Linked DNA regions of Homo sapiens: all the other regions are linked to region 5. Evidence: promoter capture Hi-C in human tissues and cell types (Jung and others, 2019). All regions are on one chromosome and are shown on one strand. Each heading gives the region's core, a stretch centred on a gene start or on the middle of the fragment in contact. The rest is flanking DNA. Distances are from core to core; before and after follow the strand shown.

Region 1 (4,679 bases), core at 137-2,636, 320 kb before region 5:
CCATCCTAACCTGTATATTCTTTCCAGGTTACTGTCATTGCCATCAAACCCAGGAGAACACTTGGGGTTGCATCTCCTCAGACAAAACTCTGTACCGTGCTGTGTCACAGCCTGAAAAGGACACTTCCCACAGAAAATCAGGCAAGGGGCAGGTTCTGAGCTTCCCTCCAAAGCTGGAGAACAGGCTCCACAAAGCTCAACTGGAGAAATCATGAGAATTATCTAAAAGTAAATCTAGTTAGTATACTATAGAAAAATCTGCAGAAGCCTTCTGTGAATGGGCTGGAGAGGGATGATCTCCATGCAGAAATGTACTAAGGACTGTTCAAAGCCAACTGAGATGCTAATACCTCTCACAGAAGCCTCAGCAAATGTTACTTTTATCTGAAAAACTCACTAGGACTAGAGACCTGTGAGACCTTAGATTGAGCACTGCTGATGAGCTGGAAAAGCAGCAAGACAGCAAACCTAGTTCTCACATGGGCAAAGGTTTACTCTAATTCTCAGAAGCAAAAGCTTGTCTTCTTAATGGTTTCATCTACAAAAAAAACCAGCATGTGGGTCATTAAGAATTAAATCCTGAAATAGCAAAGAGCATACTAATATTGCAAATAACCCTAATGGGGGTGGGGTGGGGTGAGGGGTGGGAGGTATAGATAATAGCACTACTGAATTTGTTTGCATCCCCAAAATTCAACACATGCTTCCACTCAACATACTGACTAGGTTGTAAAAAAGGGAGCGTCTGATACAGACTACAGATGTTGGGAACAAATGTGGCAACATGCTACCGAAGAGAGAAAAGGGGTGTTGGAATTCTTCACTGAGAAGCTCAGAAGCAGTTTTCACTCACTCAAACACTTACTATGCAGTACAAGGCAGGCATAGACTAGGCCTACAGGGACATACGAGAAACAGTATGGCATCATCTCTGCCTGAAAGGAGTTCTCACAGTTTAGCAGAGAGCTACAAATGAAATAAGCAAATTACAAAGTAAAAATAAACAAAAAATAGAGGGCCACCCAAGAAGTAAAAATAAACTGGTAAAGGAATTGGAATAGAAGACATCATCTTCTCACTAGGCCTGCAGGGGCCCCCTTTACAGGCAGAGAAATAAGTGCCACGCCACTCACCTGTGGCTGGCTTCCGGAAGCCTCTCAGGAGCGGGGCAGGGTCCTGGGTGACCTCGGCCTGGCCACGAATAGCAGCGCTGCCCAGGGCCAGAGAGCCGCTGCTGCTGCTGGACGGGCTGCCGCTCTCGCCATCGGCGTGGCAGCCCGAGAACCCTGAAGGCACAGCATTCCACTGGTCAAAAGTATCACCAAGCCGCGCCCATGGCTCTCAGACAAGCTCATTTCTCCCAGCTCTCCCTGAGATGCTGCCAGCAATACTGGGATGCTTCCATCTCCCAGCCTTAGGCTGAGAGAAACCACCACTTCATGGTCTGGCTTTAAAATATCACCTTACAGGTGCCAAACTGCCATCTTTATTTGTATAGCACTACACCTTTTACAAAGCACTGGCATAATCAAATCCTCCGTTGGATCCTCACGACTGCCCTGGGAGACAAAGAGGAAGGCACACAGCAGAGCCCAGCACTAGAACCTATGGCAGGCCTCATCCATTGGCAGGGCTCTTGCCTGTGGCCCGACAGCTCTCCTAGTATCGCACTATTAGGTCAGAAACTGCTGACAGAGGGAGGCCAGGTCCCCAGGACCTGAGGAAAAAGCATCACAACCATGAGTTTACACATACCTGATGCAGATTCCACGTGGGCCCCGTTTACCTTCAGAGGAGTCAGGACAACTCGAGGCAGCATCACCCCAGTCTTTTTCTTTTGTTTGTTCGCCTGCGTTCCAAGAGAGAACAAAAGAGAGCCCAAGTCAACTGCAGAGCCACAAAAGCATTCCCTGGCGACACTATCTCTACTCACGCTCTTGTAAAATGAAGTTCGTCTTCAACCAGATCTGTCAAATAATGCTGACAAGAGCACTGGTTAATGTTACTGAGCTACGTGCTGGTCACTGTGCCAAGCATCATTCCAAGCTACAAAAATGTACTGTTATCCCCATTTTACAGGTAAGGAATTTTCCCCAAGTCTCAAGGCTAGTAAGTGCAGGGTTATCATTCAAACTGCTCACTCCCAATCTCCTGTTCTCTCTACTCTGCACTAACCACACTTCTCCCTGAATGTTCACGTGTATATTACAAGAATGAACAGAATCAGGCTAGGCATGGTGACTCACACCTGTAATCCCAGCACTTTGGGAGGCTGAGGTGGACAGACCACTTGAGGTCAGGAATTCGAGACTAGCCTGGCCAACATGGCAAAACCCTATCTCTACTAAAAATACAAATATTAGCCAGGCACGGTGGTACGTGCCTGTAATCCCAGCTACTCGGGAGGCTGAGGCAGGAGAATTGCTTGAACCCCAGAGGCAGAGGTTGCAGTAAGCGGAGATCATGCCACTGCACTCCAGCCTGAGCGACAGGCGCGACTCCATCTCAAAAAAAAAAAAAAAAAAAAAAAAAAAGAATGAACAAAATCACTCAGCCAAGGTAAAGAAAGAGAAAAAACTTACTCTGCTCAAACCTACTGTTCACTTTTCCTGCGGCCCCCTGTTAAATGCTACTAACAGCTGGAGACCAGACTTCTATTCTTCACTCTCTGAACATGTTCACAGCTCACTACAGGAGAAGGAGGGATCTTGCCTTATACCTGTCATCATTCATCCTCCCAGGCTAGGCTCTACCTCTTCCTTACCTGTGAGGAAGCTCTGTAGCTGTCCCTGGGATTGGAAAGAGGTCGACTCTGAGATTCTGTAGAACAGGATGCGTTCGAAGATGTTTCATCAAGAGATACTGGAAGAGAGGAAAATAAAGGTTAGTCCCTAGTGCCTGCTGTGGCTCCCTCACCCATCCATTAAAGGGTCCTTACCATCGTTTTCACCACTCACAGTGCTGGCTTCATTAGACCCACAGCTCTCCACATCAGCCGTGTCCTCTGGCTCCTCTCCCTCCACTGTAGCTGGATGGCGAGACCACTGCAGGGCATCCTTCTGTGACAGCAAGGTACAACTCAGGTGAACAAAACCCTACAAATTCTTAAAGCAAGGCAGTCATTCCTAAATGTGTATGCTTTTGAAAAAGAGGGATTTAGAATACTGACAAGTTCCTAACCCTTTCTAACTGACCTTTTTCTCAGCAAGTTCTTTTCATAAATATATCATTAAGAAAGTTAGATACACTTTTGCATTCAAACATTCATTAAACATTTATAGGGTGCCTCCTATAAGCTATACCATGTTAGTTCTGGGGAGGGTGGAGTGCTAAGGAGCAGGAATCAAGGCCCTGCTCTCAAGGAGCTCAAATAAGTAGGGGGGTCAATTAAACTGATTACAATACAAAGTACAGTACATAGGTGAACATGGAGAGCCGTGGCAGCCCAGAAGAGGGGCACCTAACTTCAATGAGTTGAGCGAAAGACGGCATGGAGGTGAATAACGATCAGGGAAGTAACACATCCAAAAGGATGTGTTGCTTAAGCTGGGTTTTAAAATAAATTAGCAACTAGACAGACAGGTTGGCAGTAGAGAGATTGTAGGAAGTTTCTAGATAGTGGGATGAGCAAATGTGAAAGAATATTCCAAACTCAGGGAAACTAGGGCTGTGGGGAACTCAATATGCAGGAAGCTAGAGAGGGCACGAGGGCAGATGGTAAGACCCATGTGGAGGGATCAAGAATTTGATTGTTCCGGAGTCACTGAAGAATATTAACTACAGGAATGATTTGAGTTTTCGGAATTTCATCTGGCAACCGCGGGAAGCCTAGAGGCAGGAAGAAGAGGTAGACACTATGAAAGATGTCCAACAAAAAATGCCAAAGATCTAAACCAAAGATTGTGGCTACAGGGCTAGAGTGTAGAGGAGAACTCCATCCCAAATTTCACCTCCTAAGAAAAGCTTCTTCCAATAGACTCACGACATGTAGACTCAGAATTAAACTCTACCCATTCCCAAGAAGAACTTGGGAGTTATCTCACACCTCAAAACTACAAAGAGTGTGGATGAGAATACTGGCAGTTGGAGACAAGAAGAAGATAAGTTGGGGCAGAGGAGGAGAATGTCTTCTTTGAATAAAAGTATGTGAAAAAGAGTTGATAAAGTCATGATTCTGCTAAAAAGGCACCATAAATTTAAAACAGGTGCCCACAACAATCTAACTCATCAATTTCATGAGTCTCTTGATCCACTACATTGAAGTTTCATCAATTTATTTTCATTAGTTTTAGCCAAAATCATGTATCTTAAATTAATAAAAAAGAGGCCAGGTGCAGTGGCTCACTCACACCTGTAATCCCAGCACTTTGGGAGGCTGAGGCAGGTGGATCACGAGGTCAGGAGATTGAGACCATCCTGGCCAACACGGTGAAACCCTGTTTCTACTAAAATACAAAAAATTAGCCAGGTGTGGTGGCACGCGCCTGTAGTACCAGCTACTCGGGAGGCTAAGGCAGGGGAATCACTTGAACCCAGGAGGTGGAGGATGCAGTGAGCTGAGATTACGCCACTGCACTCCAGCCTGGCGACAGAGCAAGACTCCATCTCAAAAAAAAAAAAAAAAAAAAAAAAGAAAGAAAAAAAAGAAAACAGTTTTCTACATCTTTACCTCTTTTCCT
Region 2 (4,769 bases), core at 1,940-4,439, 360 kb after region 5:
AGGTGTGGTGGCAGGTGCCTGTAATCCCAGCTACTCGGGAGGCTGAGGCAGGAGAATCACTTGAACCCAGGAGGCGAAGGTTGCAGTGAGCTGAGATTGCGCCATTGCACTCCAGCCTGGGTGACAAGAGTGAGACTTCATCTCAGAAAATAATAATAATTATTGTATAAACCATTATAGCCACATTTTCTGTCACCTGTAGTCAAAAGCAATTCCAACTAACAGAAGTCCAGAATGCCCTCTCTGGCATTTACCACATGTATATGACAATAGGCAAGTCACTAATTCTCTGCCTACCTTCTTACCATAATCAAATAAGAAGCTACTTCAAGTGCTATGAAATACACTATTGTAAGGTATTATCACTGCTGATACCTTTCCTCTCCTTGACCACATTTCTATTCAAAGGATTTTTAGTGAAAGATTCCATGGTACTGACAGTGGTTAAAAACCCCTTGCTGCAAGGAGGAAATTTTCCTTTTCTTGTGAACAAATATGCTAGAAGACATGGGAAAATCTTGGATTCCCATGATCTTAATGCCTAACTCAGGTCACTGGGAAGGCTTCCCAGGCATGAATGTAATGAAGACGACTAAAGCTGGGGGAAGGAAGAGGCAGGAATGTAACATGCAGCAACCCCACTTAGCCTCAAAACCATGATTCCACCAAAGCATGATGCTGAAAACTACCTGGAAAGTGTTCAAATTTAACCCTTCACATCCTTTTTTTCTTTCTTTTTCATCTCTGTTTTTTAAAGAATCTAGCCTGTTGCTCAGGCTAGACTCGAACTCCTGGGCCCAAAGGATCCTCCCTCCTCAACCCCTCCTAAGTAGCTGGGCATGGTGGTGTGTGCCTGTAGTCCCAGCTAATCAGGAGGCTGAGGTGGGAGGATCATTTGAGTCCAGGAGTTTGAGGCCACAGTGACCCACGATTGCACCACTGCACTCTAACGTGGGCAACAGAGTGAGACTCTGTCTCTTAAAAGACAACAACAACAACAACAACAAAATAGTTAAGCAGTATTTATTTCCCTAGATCTATGTTTGCAGCCCAAAAGAAACTGAGCTTTCTCAAATTTTTATTAAATATTCATGACAAGCAATGATTGTCTAATCTCTTGATTTAAGGAAATAATCCTTCCCATTTACGTGGCCTATAAATTGACTATTAACTTACCCAAATGTTACATATTCTCTTTCTAATATTTCTATATAGAACTACCAACCTGGCCAACATGGTGAAACCCCATCTTTCTACTAAAAATACAAAAATTAGCTGAGTTTGGTGGCACATGCCTGTAATCCCAGCTACTCGGGAGGCTGAGGCAGGAGAATCGCTTGAATGCAGGAGGCAGAGGTTGCAGTGAGCCGAGATCATGCCACTGCACTCCAGTGTGAGACTCCGTCTCATAAATAAATAAATAAATAAATAAATAAATAAATAAATAAATAGCCGGGCACGGTGGCTCACACCTGTAATCCCAGCACTTTGGGAGGCCAAGGCGGGCGGATCGCCTGAGGTCAGGAGTTCGAGACCAGCCTCAAAATGGAGAAACCCTGTCTCTACTAAAAATATAAAATTAGCCAGGTGTGGTGGTGCATGCCTGTAATCCCAGCTACTTGGGAGACTGAGGCAGGAGAATTGCTTGAACCTGGGGGGTGGAGGTTGCAGTGAGCCAAGATCGCACCATCGCACTCCAGCCGGGGCAACAAGAGCGAAACTCCGTCTCAAAAAAAAAAAAGAAATCGAGACCATCCTGGCCAACATGGTGAAACCCTGTCTCTACTAAAAACACAAAATTAGCTGGGCATCGTGGCATGCGCCTGTAGTCCCAGCTACTCGGGAGGCAGAGGCAGGAGAATAGCTTGAACCCGGGAGGAGGAGGTTCCAGTGAGCCAAGATCGTGCCACTGCACTCCAGCCTGGCAACAGAGTAAGACTCCATCTCAAAAATATAATAATAATTAATTTAAAAAATTAAAAATAAACAAATAATAAGATTTCTATATAGAACTAAAAATGATTCCTGGGGCATTGACTTAATAAAAGGGTATATAAATTTGAAAAAGTTAAAAATAAAAACAGCTATTAACTTTTTTCTTTTTTTTTGAGACAGAGTTTCACTCTTGTCGCCCAGGCTGGAATGCAGTGGCACAATCTTGGCTCACTGCAACCTCTGGCTCACGGGTTCATGTGATTCTCCTGCCTCAGCCTCCTGAGTAGCTGGGATTACAGGCACCTGCCACCATGCCCAACTAATTTTTTGTATTTTTAGTAGACGGGGTTTCACCATGTTGGCCAGGCTGGTCTTGAACTCCTGACCTCAAGTGATCCACCCGCCTCAGCCTCCCAAACTGCTGGGATTACTAGCGTAAGCCACCGTGCCCGGCCAACAGCTATTACTTAATGAGCACTTATGACATGCCAGACACTGTTGACAGTGTCTTACATGTATTAACTCACTAAATCCTCACAATAATCCTATAAAGTAGGTACTGTTATTATCTTCATTCTATACTGAGGGACTTGAGGCACAGAGAGATTTACTACTTATTCACAGTCATGCAGCTAAGAAGCAGTAAAGCCAGGATTCCAAATGGAATAGACACCGAAGGTGGTGTTCTTATCCACTGCCTATTTATTTAAAAATAGACATTTAAGCTGGGCGCGGTGGCTCACGCCTGTAATCCCAGCACTTTGGGAGGCCGAGGCGGGTGGATCATGAGGTCAAGAGATTGAGACCATCCTGGCTAACACAGTGAAACCCCGTCTCTACTAAAAATACAAAAAAATTAGCCAGGCGTGGTGGTGGATGCCTGTAGTCCCAGCTACTCGGGAGGCTGAGGCAGGAGAATGGCGTGAACCCAGGAGGCGGAGGTTGCAGTGAGCCGAGATCGCGCCACTGCACTCCAGCCTGGGCAACAAAGCAAGACTCTGTCTCAAAAAAAAAAAAAAAAATTCACATTTAAATAGATAAATAACAAATGTCATGGAGCAAGAGATAATAACTTCCAAATACTGTCTACTGTAGGCCAGGCACCTTACCAGACACTTCACATAAATCATCTCGTTTAAACTGCATTAACAATATAGACAATAGATAGATGTCTTTATAAATAAATGCTACCATCACCATTTTATAAACAAGGAAACAAGCTCAGAGAAGTTACACTATTCCAAGATCACCAAACTAATACATAGCAGTGTTGAGTTTTAAAAGAACAAGTCTGCAGGATTCCAAAATCTGGGGTCTCTCTAATGCACAAGTTTTCCTATAAACATTGCTTCAAAAAGGAGGTAGGTAATCAAATCATAAGATCCTGTTCAACAAAGACAAATCCTGCCCTTTATGAAAACTAAGCATCCCTGATATGCTCATAAAGAAAACTTTAGCAAATTACAAATCCTGTTATAAATATATTTGGAAAGCTCTGATCTGAATCTTCCCATAAATTTTTTAAAAAATCCATTGATTCCTCTTTTTTTAAGTATACTTTTCCATATGAAGTTTTTCCTCTATATAAGATGGTGGTTAGTGAAAACCTCAGTGATATTCTAGAGTAAAGAGACTATGAAGAGGGTTCAAGCAGCAGAAGAAAGGCTGTCCTCTGAGGTCTAAGACTACATTTGATTAGTGGGGAACAAACGGCGAGGGGTGCAAACCTAAGTACACTTAATCTTTAGGTGAAATTTTAAAAACAAAATATTATTTTCCTAACATGACCTGTTCTTTAAAAAAGCTTCTTTTAAGCTATATTTTGGTCTAGAATGGCCAACTCAGGAGACCATCCCCTCTCCCTGGAAAAAGAGAATAAATAAATACATATCCATTGAGAAGTCTGACTCTCTTCAATTAAGGCTGATAGGACAAGTACATCAAGAAAACGAAAAGCTAACTACTGGGTAATTTCGGTTTCACGACACTACCTCCCCCAGAAATAATAAATATGAGGATGTGAAATCTTCCAAAATTAAAGTCCACAGGGCCTAGTGGGAAATGGAACAGGCCAGAGCCAAAGGCAGCTGTTTAAATGAGAGAGCCCCAGGCATGGTGGGAACTGGATGCCTTCCTGCGTCCCTTAATCAAGATTGAATTTCTGTCAACAGGTCTCACCAAAAAAAAAAAAAAAAAAAAGGCACATGCGTCAACCACATTCCCCCAAACAAATCAAGTTGCCAAGCAAGAGAATCAGCTTCACATTTCAAAATTATCTGAATCTACCACAGCTTCAGATTCTTGCAAAACTAGAAATATTCTGCATGGAAAAATAGCTATTAATGACCAATATTCCTACAAAGACCCAAGGAAAAAGCCTATCCTGTATGCTATGAACCAATTAGGTTCCTCTAAAAACTGCCTATTCAATGCCATCCATCGTGTCTTATAGCCCATTTTTGTTTCCAAAAAGCGAAGACTAAAACGATAGATAGATAGATAGATAGACAGACAGACAGACAGACAGACAGAGATAGAGATATAAAATCTCGGCCGGGCACAGTGACTTATGCCTGTAATCCCAGTACTTTGGGAGGCCAAGGCAGGCGGATCACGAAGTCAGGAGTTCGAGATCAGCCAGGCCAACATGGTGAAACCCGTCTCTACTAAAAATACAAAAATTAGCGGGCGTGGTGGGTACGTGCCTTTAATCCCAGCTACTCGGGAGGCTGAGGCAGGAAAATAGCTTGAACCCAGGAGGTGGAGGCTGCAGTGAGCCGAGATTGCACCGCTGCACTCCAGCCTGGGACAGAGCGAGACTCCTTCTCAAACAA
Region 3 (4,792 bases), core at 902-3,401, 300 kb after region 5:
AGTGAAATGTCAGCATTTGTGAAGCTGTTTCAGGAAGCTGATACTTTCAGCACATAGAGCCATGGTTTGGCCTGAGCCCAGACTCTTATTCATTTACGAGGAGAATAGCAAAAATCATCAAACATTTCCAATGTCAGCAACCTTTACTACAGCTTTAGAAAATAGAGTAGGTGTGCAAGAAGACAGGGAAACAAGTAAAAAGCATGCTTTTGTCCCCAGGCTTTTTTGTAGCAACTACACTGGCTTCAGCTGGATAACAAATTGTCCTGGAATTCTTGGCTTTGGAGCAAACATGTCAGCTCCCTGGTTACGCCTTCGTCATTGCCCAAAGTACCACACACTTTAACCTTCCTGCTCTTTCCATAGGCCTGGGTTTGTCCCGTATCCAGGAAACTTTATATGTTGTCTAAACTGAGCATCCCAGCAGGCTACGAGGCAGATGGCAGCTCAGGATTCAGAATGTTGACCAATTCCTACCTGGATCCACACCACCAAGCTGTAACTCAGCCTGCCTCTGCAGAAATAGGAGCCCAGCCACGTGGCTAACAGCTTTTTTAACTGCTGCTCTCAGCAATGAGGAACTTCCCCAGCAGACAAGATTCAGTAAGACGGCCTTCATCGAGAGAAATGAAAAGGAAGCAATATCAAGATTGATCCAACAGGATATACAGGTTCAACCAAACACTCAAGACAATACGCAAGCCCCCAAAGCTCAATTAAGCCAGGAGGAGATGAGGACCAGGTGCTGCTACCTTGCCCTCTAGTCCTTGGGACCTCAGGTCACAAACCCAGGACATCATGCAGGTCTGCCTCCATGTCACTAGATTGTCATAAGAGGCTTCATACTTGTCAGGAAGGAAGCCAGGACATGCCTGAGGTGGCACCTGAACTACATCTTTAAAATGCACAACATGTATGAAAAAACCAAGGTACAGAGTGTAAAGTATGATGCTATTTGTGTAAAAAAATAAGAGAAGGAGGGTAGGTAGGAGTATGTATAGGAAGAAACAGTCTCTGCAAGGGAACTTAAGAAACTGGCAGCACTATCTCTGGGGAGGGGAGCTGAGCAGTTGGGAAGAAAAGGCAGGAGGAAGACTCTACGTTTGTATCTTTTCAATTCAGAACTATGTGAATGTATAACCTTTTAAAGAACAAATTAAAATTTTTAAAAATGCATAATGCTACTACTATCTTATTTCTTTTAAAAAAAATGCTCTATGTGTGTGCTCAGAGAAAACATTCTGGAAGAATCCTATTGCGAACCATGGGTTACACTGGGACGTGGGAGTAGGGGAAGGAAGGAGACTTTCGTGTTTTATTTCATACAGTTAGTAGCATTTTACTTGTTTCCAAAAGGCAGTACTACTTTTGCAAATTTTACTTTAAAAAAAAAAAAAAAAACCTTTACAAACTGCAACCTCACTTTCAAAAACAATCCCTAAACTCCCACAGCACTCTGTCTCACATTACTGAATCACATCCCATCTTGTGTTACGATTATTCGTGTCCAGGTCTCATCTCTGTTAAATGCTGGAGCAACTGCAACTTTGTTCTGTCTACCATGCTGGCTCCACTTCCCAGGGACAAGACTCTAGAAAAAAGACCTGGTAAGGAATAAAACAATCAAAATGGTAACCAAGCAATTACACAGGACAAAACAATCAACCAAAGCTAAGAGTGAGCAGTAATCTTATACATATATTAATTAGTACAAGAATATCGCTGGGCGTTGTGGCTCACGCCTGTAATCCCAGCACTTTGGGAGGCCGAGTCAGGCAGATCACCTGAGATCGGGAGTTCAAGACCAGCCTGACCAACATGGAGAAACCCCCTCTCTACTAAAAATACAAAATTAGCCAGGTGCATGCCTGTAATCCCAGCTACTCGGGAGGCTGAGGCAGAATTGCTTGAACCTGCAAGGCAGAGGTTGCAGTGAGCTGACAACACGCCACTGCACTCCAGCCTGGGTGACAACAGCAAAACCCCGTTTCAAAAAAAAAAAAATATCAGCAATAGGAAATCATGGCCAAGTTAAAAATGCACTGAAAACAAAGCAGCATGCTTCCCAGATTTCCCAGAATTCCCAGGAATTCTGACAATCTGCATGTGTGTATGTGCTAGGAGCTTTGCAAAATAGCCAAGCAAAGGCCAGGCATGGTGGCTCACACTTGTAATCCCAGCACTTTGGGAGGCTGAGGTGGGCAGATCCCTTGAGGTCAGGAGCTCGAGACCAGCCTGGACAAAATGGCGAAATCCCGTCTCTACTAAAAATACAAAAATTAGCTTGGTGTGGTGGCATGTGCCTGTAATCCCAGCTACTCAGGAGGCTGAGGCAGGAGAATCGCTTGGAGGCAGAGGTTGCAGTGAGCCAAGACAGTGCCACTGCAGTCCAGCCTGGGTGACAGAGCGAGATCTCCCAAAAAAAAAAAAAAAAAAAGGCGAGCAAAAAGTAGCAGCTAAATTCTTAAAATTCAGTAAATTCTTATCTCAGGATATGTTCTTTATTTAGGAAAATTCCTGAGTGACCTGAGTGTGGAAAGATGATGCTCCTATTAGCACATGGCCTGAAGGGATGAATAAAATAATTTTTCTGTAAAATGCAAGCAGAAAGTTTGAGTTTCTGGGAAAAATGGGAGAGTGTGCTAGAAAAATGAAGGTGATGTGCGGTGGTCCAGAAAAAGAGGGCTCAGTACTAGGCAAGAGACCATGTGGTGGAGGAAAAGATTGCCCCTGGGAAACTGAGAAATTTTGGGAAGCAAGAGGCACTGAATGTTGACATCTCAGTGTTAAGCTACTTTCTCTAAAGTAATGTAACTCCTCTTTGTGGCCTCTAACAGACTGTCACTTATTACCACTGACATGAGTTTGCACAGGGGATTATCCAGAATGGAGCAAATGGGGCAGAAGGATCCCTCACATCCATAATTCTCAGTAACACTCCCAAAACCCTCAATCTGAGGGCCGGATTTATTCCCCTGCCTGAAACAACAACGAACAAAACCAGACAAGGTATATGAAAAAATGATTCCAGATGGAAATACATGAATGATAGTGATAGAGGAGAAATGCTGATACCAGTAGAGAGAAAATCTACAAAGAACAGACACAGAGATCAAGAGATAAGCAGAAGTGGAAAAAAACAAGAGGAAATCAGAAAAAAAATGAATGCTGCTGTGAACCCACAAGAAATAAAAGGACTAGGGTAGAACTGGATTTCTCACAGTACAAGGGATGGACCCTGTCTCTGTTTGGGGCTGACACCTGGGTGCCCTCTATAAGAAAGAAAGGTGCCCACCTTTCTTTCACTCTCCAAATCCAATCTGTTAGGAAGTCTTGTTAGTTACAACTTTAAAACACATTCAGAACCCAACCACTTCTCCTCTCTGCCACTGCTACCACCCTAACCCAAGTCACTGTCAGCTCTCACCTGCACAACAGCCGAGAACCTCCTCGCCTTCCCAATTACAATTTCACATGCCCCCGACTCCCAACCCATCTATTCACATAGCAGTCAGCACGTCTGTCACCTTACACAAGAGCTTAAATTATTTGCTTACTGTCTCTCTCTCCTACTAAAATGTTAGCTCCATGAAGGCAAGGTCTTTTTTTTTGTTCATTGACGTATTCCCAGAGACTAGAACAGTGCTAAGGTATACACAGTCATCCCTCAGTATCCGTGGAGAATTGGTTCCAGGACACCCCTTCATTCTCCACTCTTCACGCATCAGTTTATGGGGGTTCAGGAGGACCAGGATCTGCAAATCATACTGTGAGAAACACCATCTTGCTTTGTCAATTAATGCTGGGACTACAATGACTTGTACATAAGAGATTCATATATGCTCACTGAATAAAAAAATGAATATAAAATAAGTTTCAGGTCATATATGGTACCTAGGACTAGCCTGGGCAGAATCCAGATGCTTTTGTATCTCCTAGCACACGCAATGAATGATAGAGTTGATACTCAAAAATGATGTGAATTCTAAAAGAAAATATATTGTTTAACATGGACCTAAGCCAATTCTGTGCCAGCCACAATAAACAAGAGATGGCTATGGCAATTCTTGTCTTCAAGGAACTTACATATCTGTATCTCTATTAATTTGTGAACAAGTTCAAGTAACTCAGATATAGTATAACTGCTCTACTCGAGATGTATACAAGAAACATTTACGAGTCACAGCCAGGCGCGGTGGCTCATGCCTGTAATCCCAGCACTTTAGGAGGCCGAGGCGGACGGATCACGAAGTCAGGAGATCGAGACCATCCTGGCTAACACAGTGAAACCCCATCTCTACTAAAAACACAAAAAATTAGCTGGGTGTGGTCACGGGCACCTGTAGTCCCAGCTACTCGGGAGGCTGAGGCAGGAGAATGGCGTGAACCTGAGTGGCGGAGCTTGCAGTGAGCCAAGATCACGCCACTGCACTCCAGCCTGGGCGACAGAGTGAAACTCCGTCTCAAAAAAAGAGAAACATTTGGGAGTCACAAAGAAGGAAGTGACCATCTTTACTGAGGAGGTCAGAGGTCAAGGAAAGATTTCTAAAAAAGATTTAACTTAGGCCGGGCGCGGTGGCTAACACCTGTAATCCCAGCACTTTGGGAGGCCAAGGTGGGTGGATCACTTGAGGTCAGGAGTTGGAGATCAGCCTGGCTAACATGGTGAAACCCCATCTCTACTAAAAATAGAAAAATTAGCCAGGCATGGTGGCACACACCTGTAATCCCAGCTACTTGGGAGGCTGAGGCAGAATCGTTTGAACCCAGGAGGCGGGAGGCTGCAGTGAGC
Region 4 (4,632 bases), core at 497-2,996, 290 kb before region 5:
CCAGCCTGAGCAACAGAGCATGACTTCATCTCGGGAAAAAGAAAAATACAGGGAAAAAAAAAAAAAGCCACAGTGAGTTTTTTTTGTTTGTTTTTTTTTTTTGCAATGTTTAATTTTTAGCTATTCAGCTATCATTAGTGTATTTTATGTGTGGCCCAAGACAATTCTTCTTCTAATGTGGCCCAGGGAAGCCAAAAGATTGGATACCACTGTTCAGAGTTATTTCAAAATGAACACATAAAAAATGCTAACTTAGTAAGCAGTATGTGACCTCATGTATAAACAAATATGTATACTGAGAGAGAATGAGAGTTTGAGCTCAAAAAAATTTTTTATATTACTATTAGGGGAATAATTTTTTAAGTGAATCCTACTGCTGTAGGCACTGAAAAGCAATACAGTGACAATATCAGAATTGTGCTTTAGAATTATTCTGACAGTAGTCTGTACACTGCATTAGAGACAGAAAAAGTCTGGGAACCAGAGTGCCAATTAAGAAGCTAATGCAACAGTTAGGGAAGAGGTAATTACTCCCTAACTAAGAATGTTACGAATATAAGGAAAAAGATTGTTACAGATTAAATAAGAATAAATAAAGAGGGAAATAAGAAAACATGTATATCTGTATACCCTTACAAAAATAAACACAGAAAGGATACGCCCCACCTAACAAAGCTAAAAAGCAAGCCTCAAAAGAATTAGTTTCCAGCTAACTCATCTGCACTCCAGAACAAATCTCAAAAATACCAACATGAATACAAAAATATCCACAACCCAAAGTGAAATTCACAATGTCTTTCATCTAAACAGAATTTATTAGGATTGCAAAGAACTGGGAAATCTGACCCATAATGACAAGAAAAATAGAATACATAAAAACAGACCCAAAGATGATATAGAGACAGAATCAGAAGAGATTATGAAAAGTTATTATATTTCACATGTTCAACATTGAGCACGTTAAGCAGAGAAATATAAGATGTTTTTTAAGAAACAAACCAGGTGTGGTCGCTCATTCCTGTAATCCCAGCACTCTAGGAGGCTGAGGCAGGTGGATCACCTGAAGTCAGGGGTTTGAGACCAGCCTGGCAAACATGGTGAAGCTCTGTCTCTACTAAAAATACAAAAACTAGCCAGACATGGTGATGCATGCCTGTAATCACAGCTACTTGGGAGGCTGAGGCAGGATAATCGCTTGAACCTGGGAAGCGGAGGTTGCAGCGAGCCAAGATCATGCCACTGCACTTCAGCCTGGGTGACAGAATGAGACTCCGTCTCAAAAAAAAGAAAAAAACTGAATTTTTAAGGATAAAAGGTATAATTCTGGATAAGAGTAACAGATTTAACATGGGAAAGATAAAGACTAGTGAAATGAAGATCAGTAGAAACTACCCAAAACAAAGAGAATCAAATGACTAAAAAACATAACAGTGCATCAGTGAGTTGTATGACTACTTCAAGCAGCCAAATATACATGTAATTACAGACTCCAGATGCGGTGGGGAAGTACAAAAGAAAAATATTTCAAGAAATAGTAGCTGAATACGTAAATTTCATCCATGAAGCTCAAGAGAATTCAAACACAAGAAATATGACGCAAACTACAACAAAGTATATAATAAACACATTGCTGAAAAAGCAGTGATAAAAAGAAAATCTTAAAAATTAACCAAAAAAGGCAAAAAAGATAAATTTGCTCGCTGAAGAACAAAGATTAAAATAACAACAGATTTTACAGGAGAAATAATGCAAGCTAGAGACAGTGGAGCAACATCTTTAAAGTACACAATGAAAAAAACCTGTCAACCTAGAATTCTGTATCAAAGGAATATATCTTTCTAAAAACAAGAGGAAGTACTTTTTCAAACACACCAAAGCTTAAAGATATCACCAGCAGACCTACACTACAAGAAACACATTAAAGGAAGTCCTCTGGCAGAAAGAAAATCTGAACTGACGAGAAAAAACTGAAGAAAATCTGGCAGATGAGAATCTGGAACCGCTCATAGGCAATAAAGAACACCAGAAATGGAAAACATATAAAGTAAAAGACATTTTTTCTTACTTTTAAAATCTTTTTAGGCCAGGCATGGTGGCTCATGCCTGTAATCCCAGCACTTTGGGAGGCCAAGACAGGCGGATCACTGGAGCTCAGGAGTTCGAGACCTGCTGGGCCAACGTGGCAAAACCCCATCTCTACTAATAATACAAAAATCAGCCAGGCATGATGGGGCGCACCTGTAATCCCAGCTACTCAGGAGGCTGAGGCATAAGAATCACTTGAACCCAGGAGGCAGAGGCTGCAGTAAGCCAAGATTGCACCACTGCACTGTAGCCTGGGCAACCGAGTGAGACTCCGTCTCAAAAAAAAAAAAATTGTTTTAAAAAAATTGACTACTTAAATGAAAAATAATAATGTATTGTGGAGTTTACAACATATGTAAAAGTGAAGTGTATGACAAACATAGCACAAAGTCTGAAGGGAAAATGAAGTGTACTGCTATAAGGTTCTTGTAATATAGGTGAAGTGGTATAATATTAAAGACTGAGTTTCACAAGCTGAACTCAATAAACACTAAAGCAGCCACTAAAATAACAAAGTACTAATGAGCCAAGAAAGGACTTAAAAATGAACCACTAAAAAATCCTCAATCCAGGCCAGGCATGGCGTAGCTCACTCCTGTAATGCCAGCACTTTGGGAGGCCAAGGGCAGGGATCACTTGAGGTCAGGAATTCGAGACCTGCTTGGCCAACATGGCAAAAGCCCATCTCTACTAAAAATACAAAAATTAGGCCAGGCACGGTGGCTCACGCCTGTAATCCCAGCACTTTGGGAGGCCAAGGCGGGCAGATCACAAGGTCAGGAATTTGAGACCAGCCTGGCCAATATAGTGAAACCCTGTCTCTACTAAAAATACAAAACATTAGCTGGGTGTGGTGATGGGCGCCTGTAATACCAGCTACTTGGGAGGCTGAGGCAGGAGTATCGCTTGAACCCAGGAGGCGGAGATTGCAGTGAGCCGAGATCGCGCCACTGCACTCCAGCCCAGGTGACAGTGCGAGACTCTGTCTCAAACCAAAAAAAAAAAAAAAAAAATAGCCAGGTGTGGTGGCACGCACCTGTAATCCCAGCTACTTGGGAGGCTGAGACAGGAAAACTGCTTGAACCCAGGAGGCAAAGGTTACAGTGAGTTGAGATTGCACCACTGCACTCCAGCCTAGACGACAGAGTGACAGTCCATCTTAAAAAAACAAAAACGAAAAAAACACCACATCAGACAAATAGAAAAGATGGTTGTTTAAACTCTATAAAAATCAGTAAACATCCAGCCGCAGTGGCTCACACCTGTAATCCCAGCACTTTGGGAGGCTGAGGTGGGCGGATCACAAAGTCAGCAGTTTGAGACCAGCCTGGCCAATATGGTGAAACCCCATCTCTACTAAAAATACAAAAATTAGCCGGGTGTGGTGTCAGGTGCCTGCAGTCCCAGCTACTTGGGAGGCTGAGGCAAGAGAATGACTTGAACCCGGGAAACGGAGGTTGGAGTGAGCTGAGATCGTGCCACTGCACTGCAGCCTGGGCGACAGGGCGAGACTCCATCTCAAAAAAAAATCAGTAATCACATTAAACATAAATAGTCTACAAACTCCAATTAAAAGGCAAACACTATCAAACTGGATAAAAGCAAGATCCCAAACACATGATGCCTGGGAAAAAAAACCACTTTAAACATAAAGACACAGGTGATAAGTTTTTTTAAAATATAAAAATATATGCCAAACACTAATCAAATGAAAAGCACGAGTAGCTATATTATGAGACAAAGTAAGTTCTGTCATTTCAAAATGACAGAGACCAATTCATCAAGATGACGACAATCATAAATGCTTATGTACCTTATAAGTAAATTTCAAACCAAAAACAAACAGAATTGAGATTTTAACACCTCTCTCTATAATTGATAGAACAGAAAATCGGTAAGAATACAGAAGACTTAAACATTATCAATCAACAAGCAAAACAGAATTGAGATTTTAACACCCTCTGTCTATAACTGATAGAATAGGAAATCGGTAAGAATACAGAAGACTTGAACATTATCAATCAACAAGCCAATCAACATTAATAGAATGCTCTACCTAACAACAGTAGAATACACATTCTTTTCAAGTGCCCGTGGAACCTTTATCAAGACACCTTATTCTGATCCATAAAACAAGTCTCAATCAATTTAAAAGGATTCAAATCATATAAGGTATGTTCTCTTACCACAATGGAATTAAATCAAAAATCAGTAACAGTAAGATCTCTGGATTTTTATTCCCAAAATATAATATCACACTTCTAAATAATCAGTAAGTTAAAGAATAAATCAAAAGAAAAATTAGATATTTTAAGCTGAATGAAAATTAAAACATAGCATATCAAAATGTGTGTGTGCATTAAATGTCTATCTTAGAAAAGAGGAAAGATTTCAGGGCTGGGAGCAGTGGCTACCCGCCTCAGCCTCCCAGCACAGGCGTGATCTGCCCGCCTCGGCCTTCCAACACTTTGGGAGGCCGAGGCGGGCAGATCACGAGGTCAAGAGTTCAAGATCAGCCTGGCCAACATAGTGAAACCCCATCTCTAC
Region 5 (4,541 bases), core at 1,947-4,446:
CACCTTTTCACTATTGCACCAGATATGAAGTTTCTCCATATGCACCCTTTAAACTGGCCTCTGTGGGTCACTGCATATGTTACATACTCAGTTTCTTTAAATCAGTTACTGTTTTCAGTACAACACTCCCAGGTGGCACAACAAACACTAAATCACCGTACTTGCAGGGTTTTGTTGGTGGTGGTGTGTTTTGTTTTTTGTTTTTTTTTTTTTTTTGAGATAGGGTCTCACTCTGTCACCCAGGCTGCAGTGCAGTGACACGATCTTGGCTCACTGTAGCCTCCGCCTCCCGGGTTCAAGCGATTCTTGTGCCTCAGCCTCCCGAGTAGCTGGGATTACAGGTGTGTGCCACCACACCCTGCTAATTTTTGTATTTTTAGAAGACAGGGTTTCGCCATGTTGGCCAGGCTGGTGTTGAACTCCTGGCCTCAAGTGATTTGCCTGCTTCAGCCTCCCAAAATTCTGAGATTACAGGCATGAGCCACTGCTCCCGGCCTGTTGTTGTTTCTTAAGACAGGGTCTCGCTCTGTTGCCAAAGCTGGAGTGCAGTGCAGTGATCAGGGCTCACTGAGGTTCAAGTGATCCTCCCACCTCAGCCCCGCAAGTAGCTGGTACTACAGGTGCACACCACCAAGCCCAGCTAATTTTTTCTTTTTGTATTTTTTTTGTAGAGGGGTTTGCCATGTTGTCCAAGCTGGTCTCAAACTCCTGAGCTCAAGCGATCTCCCAGCTTTGGTCTCCCAGAGTGCTGGGATTACAGGTGTGAGTCACTGTGCTGGGCAAAAATCACTGTCCCTTCCACTGTGCTTAGACTAAAATCCAAACTCCTTTCCACAGCCTCTGTGCCAACTGAGAACAAGCTGGCTCCCTTCAAGTACTGTCCTGAAGGGGATGGGAAGGGGAAGCAGCCTAATACAACACTATTTCAAAATGCAATCCACAGACAACAAAATGTAGACCGCAGTCCTTCCCATTTCCAGGCATGCTTCTCAAAACAGTTGCTCTTGCTTCCCTCCAGTTTCATCTTGTATCATTCTCTCCTACCCCAACCCTCATCATGCTTCGGCCCCTCCAGCCTTCTGTGTGTTCCTCAAAAACACCAAGCTCCCTTCCACATCGGCCCCTTACACTTGCCATTTCCTTTGCTTGGAACATTCTTTGCATGGCTGGTTCCTTCTTGTTAATTATGTTTTAACTCAAGTCACCTCCTCTGAGAAGACTTCTTTCTGACCACTCAATCCAAAGTAGTTGTGTCACCCAGTCACCCCTAATCACTATCACTTCATTTTGCTGTCCTCACAGCATCTACTGGTGACATTATTTTGTTCACGTATTTACTTGTTCACTGCCTGTCTCCTCAAACCAGAAAGGCTCCACAAGTGTAGGGACCTTGACCCTGTAATTCACAACTACATCCCTAGTTCCTGGAACAGAATTGGTACTCAAATATTTGTTGACTAAATAGATGTGTACCACATATATGTATTGCTAGCTTATAACCTCTTAAAAATCTCTGAACAAGGCAGGGATTTCCCAGTGCAGTGCCGTAAATACCACTTTACTCAATGTTTTCCTTATAGCAAGAGAGGGTGTGATTTCCTTTTAAGTTCTTACACTATCTCTGTTCTGAATGTGGTACCAGAATATATATACATATATGTAGGTTTCAACATACTACTTTGAGGATTTGCCCCACTCGTGGTTCAGCCTGAAGTCTGAAACCACAGAAACCAGGTAAGGCCATGAAATCTTTTTACCTGACCTCTGAAGTTCTAAATAAGGAATCCCTCATTAAACAAAGGTAAGTTCTCAGTCAGCTAAGAGAAGGAGGGAAAATTGCTACCAGTCAATAATATATCCCTGTTTGGAGAAAACCAACACCAAATTATTTAAGCCAGAATCTTCCTTTGCTAAAGTCAAATGTCATTTCCTTTTCTCTGAGTCTTCCTTGTCATTCACTCCCCGGACGAAATTATCTGCTGAGGAGGCAGTATGCAGGAAGACCCAGGAAATCATTCTGGACTAAGTGACTTCAATTTTAGTTCTGGTCTCTTGACAAGCAGAATTTGAACTAAACTTTTAGAAAAAGGGCCAGTCCTTCAAAGATTTACTTCCAAGGTTCTGCACCAGGAGCCCGCAAGCTCTGACCCAACTTCCAAGCATGGCTATTTTACCTCCACCCTCATCCACACACAGACTTCATCCCAACATATAGCTTCATAATAAAGAGCCTTCATCCCTAACGAGCTGTGTGGCCATGTTGGGGAATGGGAAGGAGAGCAGTGAGGTGGGGCTATTAGTGTTTTTCAAAACGTAGTTCACAGACCACCTCCACTATATAATCACTAGAGTGCTTATAAAAGGGCAGATTCCTGGGCATCACCTAGCCCTATGGAATTAGAATCTCTGGGAGTGGGGCTGCTCAGGAAACTGCATTTTTAGCATGCCTCCCCCTACACACCTCGAGATTCTTATGCACAGTAAAGTTTGAGAACCAACAGGGTAAAAGGTCCCTAAGAGAGGGGCAGGGAGTTGACTGAGAGAAGACAGGAAGGGCAGGGAAGCCTCTAGGGATGAAAGATGGGGGTGGGGTAGGTGAAGGCAAGCTCTGGGGTAGCGGCAGTCAAGGGGGTGCGCGATGGGGACAGCTATGAGTGTAAGTGAGGACAGGGCTCTGAAAAGGATCTGAGGCAGCGCTTGGGCTGGGAGGGTGGTCAGAGGAGAGGTCACATCTGCGGACTGGTTATGATGGTGGGGAGGCGGGGAGAGCAGGGTCTGGACGTGACGGGGAGGAGCAAGGATGAGAATAACGGGAGGGGGTCTTCAGAGGGGTCAGGACAGGGAGGTGAGAAATGGAAAATGGGGCTCACAGTGGGCGGAGACCAAAAGTAGAATGGGAACCGGCGAAGGCAGCAGCCGAGGTCTTCCTCCGAAACGGCGCCTCCCCCAAAACTCGGGGCCTTCACAAGCCTGAGTGCAGGGGCAGGGCCAGGGAGGTGGATTTCGGGGAAGACAAGCCCAGTCAGAGGTAGCCCTCAGGCCTGAGTCAGGGGTCCCGGAGGTGGCTCAGGGCCAGGCATGGGGTGCTGGAAGATCCTGGGATACCCCGGAGGGCCCCGCTCCAGCTCCCGCTCCCGGAGTCTCCTTCACTCACCATCGCCGTCGCCATCTTGGATCCACGTGTCGCCGTAATGACGTCAGCGGAAGTGGTGCTCCCTGGTTACGGAGTTTAACTCCACAAGGTGGTCGTCTGGCTTCAACCGCTCCTGTAGTGGCGGTCAGCAGAGGGGAAAAGGAGTCTTAGCTCCTGCTCGACAGTCTGGTCTGGGAAAGTAAGGTCGCTGATTAGGTGAAGAGAGAGAACGGTGTAACTAAGGAAGCCATATTAGCTCCTGGCAGAAACTGAGCCTCCCTTATTCCCGCTGCATTGTGGGTAATGGGGGTGTGCGAAAGTGCGCTCGTGCTCTCAGCGCCATCTTTACTACTGGCAGGAAGACCCATTGCCAGGGTTACCTGAGACCTTGATTTGAGGGAAAGGGTGGGCACTGGGGCTCCAAGAGCAGTACGACTCCAAGAATAATTTGTAATTATATATTTAAGTATTTGTTTGATTTTAAGTATTTGTTTGACTATCCTATATCCTCTTTAGTAGACTGTAATCCCCATGAGGGTGGACCCTGTTTTTTTGTTTGTTCGTTTTTTACCTTGCTCTTCCTCATTCCCATCTGTGAAATGGGAAGGGGGTTGGTTCATCATAGGCTTGTGATGAGGATTCAGTGACACAGTATTACATAGGATGTATTCAATAAATAATTGTCAGTATATGTTTATGTATACTCCTTTGGGCTTGTGGTAGATGCCCAATACATTATTTTTTAAATGAACGAGTGAAAACCAGCATATTCAGTGGAGGGAGATATCTCTGAATGTGGACGTCATGCACTAGCTTAGTGTGTGACTCCAGACAAGTCACGCAATCTTCCTAAGCCTCAGTTTCCAAATCTGTGAAAAAGAGACTCAAAGAATCATGGTATTAAGGTTGGGAAAGAACTCAAAGTTCATTTGACCCATGTATATCACTTTAAACTGAATACAGTACCAGTGCTATCTTAGACTGTTTTAAAAAAGCTATTAAAAGAATAATAATGATTAATAATAATCATCAGCACTTGCCGAGCATTTTGTGTGCTGCAGCACTTAGCATTATGCTAACAGTTCATTAGACTCTTTTTATCTAATTCTAGGGGGCAAGGGACAGTTGAACTCTGATCCCCACCTATGGGCACCACTGTGGTGGATTTTCTGCAAAGATGGCTGCCACGTAGTTCTGTCCGTCCTTGCATGATGAGCATACGGTTTCTCTCCTCAAGAGATAGACTCTGTTTTACCTCCTGTTGAATCTGGCTGGTCATGTTGGTTGCTTTGACCAATAGGATGTGCTACAAGTGATTCTGCCAGTACTGAGCCTAGGCCTTAAGAGGATTGAAAACGTCTGATTCTACCTTCTTGGTTATAAAGAAGTGTAGCTACTCTGCTGGAAA

The links. The method cuts DNA at HindIII sites, captures the fragments that hold promoters and counts their contacts. A contact is called where the count stands out against the background at its distance.
Region 1: a contact is called between a fragment that was not itself captured here and the fragment with the promoter of TM9SF4 in region 5, in 2 of the 25 tissues and cell types used here (mesenchymal stem cells and small bowel).
Region 2: a fragment that was not itself captured here is called in contact with the fragment with the promoter of TM9SF4 in region 5 in 1 of the 25 tissues and cell types used here (lymphoblastoid cells).
Region 3: a fragment that was not itself captured here is called in contact with the fragment with the promoter of TM9SF4 in region 5 in 1 of the 25 tissues and cell types used here (mesenchymal stem cells).
Region 4: a contact is called between a fragment that was not itself captured here and the fragment with the promoter of TM9SF4 in region 5, in 1 of the 25 tissues and cell types used here (lymphoblastoid cells).

The regions. Positions count from the first base shown.
Region 1 is chr20:32,426,508-32,431,186 of GRCh38, reverse strand. ASXL1 (ASXL transcriptional regulator 1) reads right to left here. Exons shown (of 13, transcript NM_015338.6): 5 at 2,939-3,059; 6 at 2,765-2,862; 7 at 1,756-1,849; 8 at 1,134-1,286. Among named protein-coding and RNA genes, the nearest start is that of ASXL1, 71 kb to the right of the region's middle. The HindIII fragment of the contact is 7,689 bases long and covers 1-4,679 here.
Region 2 is chr20:31,747,135-31,751,903 of GRCh38, reverse strand. All of the region lies in intron 2 of TPX2 (TPX2 microtubule nucleation factor), which reads right to left. Among named protein-coding and RNA genes, the nearest start is that of TPX2, 10 kb to the right of the region's middle. The HindIII fragment of the contact is 3,114 bases long and covers 1,633-4,746 here.
Region 3 is chr20:31,802,401-31,807,192 of GRCh38, reverse strand. No RefSeq gene overlaps it. Among named protein-coding and RNA genes, the nearest start is that of MYLK2, 15 kb to the left of the region's middle. The HindIII fragment of the contact is 6,356 bases long and covers 1-4,792 here.
Region 4 is chr20:32,392,463-32,397,094 of GRCh38, reverse strand. The region is part of intron 4 of ASXL1 (ASXL transcriptional regulator 1); the gene reads right to left. Among named protein-coding and RNA genes, the nearest start is that of ASXL1, 36 kb to the right of the region's middle. The HindIII fragment of the contact is 9,568 bases long and covers 1-4,632 here.
Region 5 is chr20:32,108,369-32,112,909 of GRCh38, reverse strand. TM9SF4 (transmembrane 9 superfamily member 4) reads right to left here and starts at 3,196. Exons shown (of 18, transcript NM_014742.4): 1 at 3,155-3,196. The coding sequence starts at 3,169. RefSeq lists enhancers at 2,190-2,932, 3,096-3,275, 2,933-3,677, 2,680-3,879. The HindIII fragment of the contact is 9,910 bases long and covers 1-4,541 here.